2 separate regions of the Homo sapiens genome follow, and region 1 is linked to region 2. The links are contacts of gene promoters, found by promoter capture Hi-C in human tissues and cell types (Jung and others, 2019). All regions are on one chromosome and are shown on one strand. The core of a region is centred on a gene start or on the middle of the fragment in contact, and the rest is flanking DNA. Distances in the headings are between cores, read along the strand shown. Region 1 overlaps NAV1 (neuron navigator 1). Region 2 holds the start of SHISA4 (shisa family member 4).

Region 1 (4,253 bases), core at 860-3,359, 330 kb before region 2:
TCTTCTTCCCTTTGGGTTATGGACCCCTTAGCCAGCGCCAGCTTCCCCTCCACCATCAGCATATCCCTCCTGCCAGGCCAGAACAACTTGCCCCATTGAAGATCCCAAACTACTAGTGGTCTAGCCTTGGCCATCCTGGTGTGGTGACCAACAGGCAAGAGCCCAGTGACCCTGCATCCGGGGTGTTTGGGGTGCCAGAGAGAAGCAGAGGAGGAGCTGGAATTGGCAATGGACCCTAGGTTCCTTGCCAGAGCTCTTGCCCCACAGCAGGCCCTGAGAAACAGGATATTTAATGAAATCCTGTCTCCCAGTCCTTCAATGCCCAAGTCACTGTTCCCGTGGAAAGACACTGATGTTTGTACAGATGTGCATCTCTGTTGCTGCGTGGCAGCATTTTTATCTCCTGTCTCTGCAGAGCCCCTTCCCTGGGACTGAGGAGCCACAGAAGGCTTTGGGATCTGTGGATCCTTGCCATGAGCCGAGACCTCCCAGAGCTCCAGCACAATGACGGGAAGGCCAGGCTGCTATTCCAGGCCAGCCCTGGGTGCCACAAAGCAGACAGTGGGCTCAGGGAACATAGTCAGCATTTCCGTTGCATTTGCCACCACCACAGGCTTTCCAGTGGCGTGCAGCAGTCGCTACTCTTTCCACAGGTACCAGGGAGTGTGTTCATCCAGTGACTGGCTTGGGACCAACCTGGGGTGGGGCTTTGATTTCTGAACCTTTTCTCCATGAGACCCCAAGAAGCCCCTGCCTTGACCACAGCTTGCCTCTGTGGTGGGTGGGACCCCTTGCTAGTGGAGGATGGGAGCTCCTTTGTGAGTCCTTCTCTTCATTTTAAAGGGACAGAGTCGGCAGTCCCTCTTGCTGCTGGGACAGTGGGATATTGTCAGTCAATGAAGTAGTCCTAAGTGTAGTAATTTTTAGTGTTGTGAGAATGGTGATTTGCAACAGGAAACAAGAACTAGCTCCCAGCCTAAAGGGTGATGTGGGAAAAGAAGGTAAACGAATCTGCCCCATCACACATGGTGTTACGCAAAAACAGGATGTGGGAGCTGCACAGATCTGAGTTCAAATCCTGATTCTGTTACTTACTTACTTACTAGCTGGGTAACTAACCAGGGTGCTTTAGTTTCCTTGACTGTAAATGAGGTAATTGTGAGAATTAAAGAAGATTAAATCTGTATAGTAGCTGGCATATGCTAGACATTCAATAAAAGTTAGTTTCCTTCACTTCCATTATCCATGTTTCTAGATTTTTCTTCTGAGTCCTTTTTTTCTGGACATTGGAAGCTCCCCACAGATACAGAAGTTTTTCCCTATTAGGCAGTAGGCTTCCTGGGGGCAGGGTTCTGTCTCTTCCATTAGTGTAGGATCTGGTTAAGGACAAGGCTGTGTTTGGCTGTGTTCCCTACTCAGCCTGGGGCCTCCATGAGATTAGGAACTGTGCCTTGCCCATCAGCCTGGGAACTCCCTGCAGGCTGGGGCTCTGTTCCTCCATCAGATCCCCCATGTTCAGGGCCCTTAGGCAGTAAGCTTGGTCACAGCATGAGACTATCAATGGTTGGAACAAAGGCACCCAGTTAGGTTTAGGTTTGAGAATCAACCAAGGAGACCAAGGAGGTTCTGAAGGTATTTTTTATTTATTTATTCCTATTTATTTTTCGGTTTTTTTAGAGACAAGGTCTTGCTCTGTCACCCAGGCTGGAGTGCAGCGGCACCATCATAGCTCACTGCAGCCTTGAACTCCTGGGCTCAGGCGGTTCTCCCACCTTAGCCTCCTAAGTAGCTGAGACTACAGGCACACACCACCTTGCCTGGCTAATTTTTTTTTTTTTTTTTGTAGAGACAGCTGGGTTGGGAAGTCTCACTATGTTGCCTAGGCTGGTCTCGAACTCCTGGGCTCAAGTGATCCTCTGGCCTTTCAGCCCCAAAAGTGCTGGAATTACAGGCATGAGCCACCAAACCCAACCTGAAGGTATTTTTCTAAGGTCAAGTATGCCCCCCGACCTTGGGTCCTAGTTGGTAGAAAGCATTTCCGAAGTGGAGACATCTGGATGGCAGATGTGAAGTTGGCTGGGATGGGCGAAGGTCTGGAAGGCTTCAGATTCCAGGCCCCATGACTCACTCCTCCATCACAGCAACCCCTCAGCAGCTGGGCCTCCTGAGCCCTGGGCAGGACAGGGTTAGTGGGCCAGGCCCAGGTGGGCAGTGGTCCTTTGCCTTGGACACTGTATGGTCTGAAAGGATCCCGGCAGGACTGATCACTTTTGAAACTGCTTTCTGAAAGCTCCAAGCTTCCTTCTGAGTGGAGCTTAAGATATAATATTAAGCAGGTCATTCTAGGACTGTATGAGAGCAGAATGTGGCATCTCTTTCTGTTTTAGCTTGCAGGGTACTTCTAGGCGGTTGGTGCTCTCTCCTGGGCCTGGTGGATGGAAGGGAGCAGGCAGGGAGGGGTGGGGCAGGCCCTGCCTACAGAGCCTGTCAGTAGGGAACCAGTGAGTCACCAGAAGTCCAATACCTCAGTCCAGATCCTGGATGCTGTTGGATCACGGGATCTGTCTGAGCATCAGTTTCCTTTTCTGAAAAGTAGGGATGATAACAGCCTAGGACGGTGGGTGAATCAGTGAGGTAATGCACAGGAACACGCATAGTAAATAGTTTTTGCCAGAGTGGGTGGTTATGAGTATTTAGAGTGGCCTGAGCCTCCCAATTGAAATATCCTGGCCTTTTGTCAAGTCCTAAGAGAGGATGTGTGGGGGAAGCTACAGACTAATGAAGAGGTGACCGGATCGTCAGAGGGTGCAGACATGCTTAGCAAGCTGGTGGTGCGACTCAGGGCTAGCTGCCCCTGGTCACGCTCCCCCTGTGCATCCGCGGCAGCAGGAAACATTTGTCCTCAGGAAACAGCCCCTCGAAGAGCGTCCGGACGCCGGGACCCAGCCTGGATGGCAGAGGGGGCGTTAACTCGTCCCACAGGTGCCACTGACCCAACACGATTTTTTTTCTGGTGTATCTTTCTGGGAGATGTATCTTTCTGGGAGATGTTGGAACTGGGCCCAGAGAAAAGCATACGAGACCACAATCCCCAAGACACTGCTTGGTGGGGTACCCCACATGTCTGCTTCAAGTGCCACAGGTACAGCAAGGAAAGCCTGCAGGATCCCTCCACATCAGAGGTAAGGAAGAACCCAGAATCTGGAATTGGATGCCAGGAGCTTGAGTTCTGGGCCTGATATGACCACCTGGGGGCCCTTTGGCTAACACCCCACTTCTCTGAGCCTCAGTTTTCTCATCAGCAAAATGAGGGCATGGATCCCTATTTCAGTGTGTTATTGTAGGGGTAGAATGAGGTAACATGTGAAAGACCTGCGAAGGCAGAATGCTGTGGCCCTGACAAGCAGAAGCTTTGCAGGCAGGCAGATCTGGTTGGGATCCGATTCTCTTTGGACCGTAAATTCCTGGCCAGAAGTGGTGGCTCACACTTGTAATCCCAACACTTTGTGAGGCCAAGGCAGGAGAATCACATCAGCCAAAGAGTTTGAGATCAGCCTGGGCAACATAGCAAGACCCCCGTCTCTACAAGAAATTTAAAAAATTAGCCAGGCATGGTAGTGTGTCCCTGTAGCCCTAACTACTCAGGAGGCTGGAGTGGGAAGATCTCTTGAGTCCCAGAGGTTGAGGCTGCGGTGAGCCATGCTAGCACCACTGCACTCCAGCCTGGGTGACAGAGCAAGACTGTGTCTCAAAAAAGAAAGAAAGAAGAAAGGAAAGAAGGAGGGAGGGAGGGAGGAAGAAAGGAAGGAAGGAAGGCAGGCAGGCAGGCAGGCAGGCATCCTCGGCCCTGGCACAGGGTCTGGCTCATTGTAGATGGTCAGTTTGTAGGTGTGAAAGGAATAGTTCAGTCTCACCTCCTCCACTTTGTAGCAGTGTGGCTTTAACTTTTCTCACCTTTAGCGTCCTTACCTATTACAGGGGAATGGGGCCAGGCACGGTAGCTCACGCCTGTAATCCCAGCACTTTGGGAGGCCGAGGCGGGCAGATCACTTGAGGTCAGGTGTTCGAGACCAGCCTGGGCAACATGGCGAAACCCCGTCTCTACTAAAAATACAAAAATTAGCTGGGTGTGGTGACACACACCTGTAGTCCCAGCTATTTGGGAGGCTGAGGCAAGAAAATTGCTTGAACCCTTGAACCCAGGAGGCAGAGGTTGCAGTGAGCCAAGATTGTGCCACTGTACTCCAGCATGG
Region 2 (4,320 bases), core at 1,783-4,282:
CCTTCTCACCACATGCAGAGGCCTGCTAGAGATAAGGGCTGGGCATCAAAGTTTCCCTGAATACATGCTTTTTATGCCAGGCATAGCACTGAACATTTTAGACTTGTTTTTTTGTTTGTTTGAGACGGAGTTTCGCTCTTGTTGCCCAGGCTGGAATGCAATGGCGATTCCCGGGTTCAAGCCTCCCGGGTTCAAGTGATTCTCCTGCCTCAGCCTCCCGAGCAGCTAGGATTACAGTCATGTGCCACCACACCCAGCTAATTTTGTATTTTTAGTAGAGACGGGGTTTCTACATGTTGATCAGGCTGGTCTCCAACTCCCGACCTCAGGTGATCTGCCTGCCTTGGCCTCCCAAAGTGTTGGGATTACAAGCGTGAGCCACCGTGCCTGGCCCTTTAGACTTGTTTAAAGAGAAGCAGGTGGTGAAGCTGAAGGGCCTGGGCTTTGAAGCCACAAAAGTCCAACTGCAAATCCCAGCAGTGTGAGCTGGGGGAATTGAAGTTCTTCCAACTTCAGTTTCCTCATCTGTACAATGGGATGAGCTCATCAGCAATGTTCGCTGCTGGTGGTATCATTACCATCATATTCCAGACACCCTGAGGAGAACCTCCTACTGGCAAAGCCTATGTTTTGTCTCATCTGATCACAAATTACTCTGCCTCCTCTTTTCCAGGAAAGCGTTTCTTTCCCTTGCTGGGGATTAAGAGACCAGCTTGGTGAGCGGGGGGTATTCCTGCCTGCCCTTACCTAGAGAAGGTGTAGTGAAGCCCTTCCAGGCCTGAAGATTTAGACAACTTCTTCCAGGGCCCCCAGTCCTCCCACCCAAGCCCCTCCTCACTCCTGGCCAATCTACAGACTCTTTCAAGACCCAGGTTCATTATGGCGACATAAGCTAGCCCCAGCTCTCCATCTCCGAGCTCCAGCATCCCTTGTCAAGGTAAGAAGTGCCAGTTCTCCCAGTGCAGCCAGTTCTCCCCTCTGGTTGGCCCACAGCCCCCTCTCTTCACTCTCTGTCCTAGTCTAGTCACCTCCCATCCCATGAACTGAAACACATTCTTAGAATTTTGCAATTAGAAAATCACTGATGATGTTGGTGCGTGCTAGGTGTCATTGCAAGCTGGAAGTGTCAACTAGGGGTATACACTTTGAGGAGGGCGTGTCAACTAGGGGTATACACTTTGAGGAAGGCTAGTTGGAGAAAAAAGCAGGAAAGTAGCTAGAGAGGGATGAGTTTTAGGAAGGATGTGGTTTGGTTTGGTTTGCTTTGCTTTGCTTTGCTTTAAATAGGAGAGACTTGAGATTTCCTAGGGAAAAGAAGCTGGTAAGGTGTGAGAAGCTAAAGACACTAAAGAGATGGGATAATGAAGAGACAAATCAGCAGGGGTCAAGGGTACACATGGGAGATTCAGCTCTGGGCAGGAAAGACAGTCCCTTATCTGAAGATGATTCAACCAACAATGACAACACTGATGGCTAGGGCTGGATGGCCACATTGAACACAGCCACGTGGTCCCTGCAGTCATGGAGCTTTTAGTGTAGGAAAGAGGAGATGGATGGCAATGGGCACACTGAGTAGGTGGTGCTGGATTCAGAGGCGTTTCTCTTTGTCCCTGCTGCTGCATTTATGACTGTGTCCTGCGTGAGGACATACTCTTGCCCATCAGGCTACCAGCAACTTTCTGGGGCAGGAGCCTATCCTCTCCTATTCCAGCTCTCTTGGGTAGGTGTGCCAGCACCCACAGGGGCCCAGGATGGGGTAGCTCCTCTTTCGGCTGTCCTTCCCTAACCTACTAAGATTCTACTGGGCCTTCCATGGACCTGTCCTGATTCTCTCACCCCAGAACACAAGAAATACTCACTGTCTACACTGTCTGCTGTTGCGGCTGGGGATCAACCCTGATTTAGATTTGGGTCTTCCTGATGCCTCTACCATTTACTGGCTGTATTACCTTGAACAAGTTCTTTAACCTCCATGAGTCCTAGTTTCTCAGTCTGTGAAATGCGATTGATAACACTGATGAACCTTGCTTAGTTCATGGAGTTGTGGAAAGATTCCAGTGAGGTAGATGTGGAAGCCCAGAAGTGTGTGAAAGGGTGTACATGGCAGGGGATTAAGGTAGGCTTTTGATGATCTCCCTGGCTTAATTTGCAGTTCCTCGGAGGGTACCTCATGTAGCATGGGGCATAGTCACTGGCACTCAGTATAAACCTGTGAAGACTGACCTCTCCCATCCTAAAACACTGTCTCCACCTGGAATTAACTGTTGCCCACCTGAAATTAACTGTTGCCCTCCCTATGCTCCGGTGGCTATTGCAGTACAGGCTTGCTCTGTGAAGGGCTTTCACTGTGAAGAGTGTTTAACTGGATGGGCCCCAGGTGGCCCCAGCAGCCTGCCTTCCCTGCTAGTGAGGCCATGGGCTGGTGCATGCCAGCTCTGTCCACTTGAAGGGGGAAGGGTCCATCGTAGGGAGCCAGTGCAGCTGGCAGGGTTCAGGCCTGTGGGCACCGCTGGGGACAAAGCCACTCTGAATGCCTCTCAATGAGTGCTTGTGTTCTGGGAATGGGGGCGGGGTGACATCCAGCCTCTTTCCCTCTCCGCCCCCGACAGGATGTCCCAGGCTGGACGCGGCAGAGGAGGTCCCCCACAAGTGAAGGTCCAGCCCTGCTCCTCCAGGGTTGGCCCATGTGTCTGGGCATTCGGAGGTGGCACCAGGATCAGGGCTTCTGGAGTCCAGCATAGTGATTGGGCCCAGGCCGGGGGCGGGTCCAGGACACAGCCAGGCTTCCCTGGCCGCAGTGCCCAACTGCCCGCAGTGCCCATGGTGGCTCGGATGGGAGGAACCACCGCGGAGCCGGGGACAGGGGGAGCAGGGCAGTGCTCTGCTGGGTGAGGGGCACCCAGCTCCAGAGGCTAGGTGGGCGTCGCTGGTGGGTGGACTCCTGGGCGCTGCGCGGAGCCGCGCCGGCTGGGTTAGCGCGGGCGGGGCGCTTAGTCCCACCCCCAGAGGAGGCGGAAGAGGAGCCCGAGCCTGGCCGCGGGCTGGGCCCCGCCGCAGCTCCAGCTGGCCGGCTTGGTCCTGCGGTCCCTTCTCTGGGAGGCCCGACCCCGGCCGCGCCCAGCCCCCACCATGCCACCCGCGGGGCTCCGCCGGGCCGCGCCGCTCACCGCAATCGCTCTGTTGGTGCTGGGGGCTCCCCTGGGTAAGGGGATGGGGAGAGATGCGGCAGGAGTGGGATGGGGGCGGAGGAAGGGGAGGGACCGATCCGAGGGGCTTGGGCTCGGGGCTTCTCCGAGACCCTCCGGCTGCCACGGGAGCCTTGGGTGTTGCTGGGTCCTCAAGAAGCGGGAAGAGGGAGCTCCAGGATGCTGGGCCATGGGAGGCTGATCCCGGGGTGCAGGGTCAGCTTCAGGCAGAGGCCTCGGGGGCTCTGGGGCTGAGACCCTCAGGGTGGAGACAAGGGGCAACCCTCAGTGTTCGGGAGCCGTCAGGCTGGGGACCGCCGGGGGAGTGGGGCCGAGCGCGGCTGGGGATGAACTGGCCTGGTGGCCACTGGGCACCCCCAATCCCTGCCCGCAGTGCTGGCCGGCGAGGACTGCCTGTGGTACCTGGACCGGAATGGCTCCTGGCATCCGGGGTTTAACTGCGAGTTCTTCACCTTCTGCTGCGGGACCTGCTACCATCGGTACTGCTGCAGGGACCTGACCTTGCTTATCACCGAGAGGCAGCAGAAGCACTGCCTGGCCTTCAGGTGGGTTCCTGCCTCCTCACCCTCACCACCTCCTCTATCCTTTTCTCCAGAGGCCTCCTCTTCCTCCCTCCCGGACTCCTGCCTCCTCCGTTGTCGACCTCCACATTCTTAGCTGAATAGAGTCACCAGGACTCAAGCCTGGCGGCAGAGCTAGGTGCTTAGGTGCTGGTGCCTGGGAGTTCCAGAAAAGGCATGTTAGTTACCTTCATAGGCTTTGACTGGGCCCGGGGTTTCCAGGTTCTTTCTGGAGCCCTCCCTTTGGTCCTGCCAGGTCATGGGGAGGGAGGGTTCAAGGTTAACACCCGGACGACAGTGTAGCTTTGTGGAAGAAGCTCTGGCACAAAGGCAGGAGACTTGGGTTTGATTCCCAGGTCCACTTCTTACTAGCTGTGTGATCTTGGAGAAGACACTTGCCTTCTATGGGTCATTGCTTGCCAAATTAGTGGTTGTCAAACTTTTTTTTAATATATCATATATAAAATAGATATAGAGACTTCTGATTGAAGCGGGGTTTGGAAAAAATGGCTCTAGATTATTTCTAAGGCTCCTTTCAGTGTTATGCTGTATGT

The links. The method cuts DNA at HindIII sites, captures the fragments that hold promoters and counts their contacts. A contact is called where the count stands out against the background at its distance.
Region 1: a contact is called between a fragment that was not itself captured here and the fragment with the promoter of SHISA4 in region 2, in 2 of the 25 tissues and cell types used here (H1 embryonic stem cells and spleen).

Annotation. Positions count from the first base shown.
Region 1 is chr1:201,560,347-201,564,599 of GRCh38, forward strand. The region is part of intron 1 of NAV1 (neuron navigator 1); the gene reads left to right. Among named protein-coding and RNA genes, the nearest start is that of NAV1, 23 kb to the left of the region's middle. The HindIII fragment of the contact is 3,528 bases long and covers 346-3,873 here.
Region 2 is chr1:201,885,866-201,890,185 of GRCh38, forward strand. It overlaps SHISA4 (shisa family member 4), which reads left to right and starts at 3,033. Exons shown (of 5, transcript NM_198149.3): 1 at 3,033-3,202; 2 at 3,580-3,751. The coding sequence starts at 3,130. RefSeq lists enhancers at 2,526-3,035, 2,876-3,170. The HindIII fragment of the contact is 16,044 bases long and covers 1-4,320 here.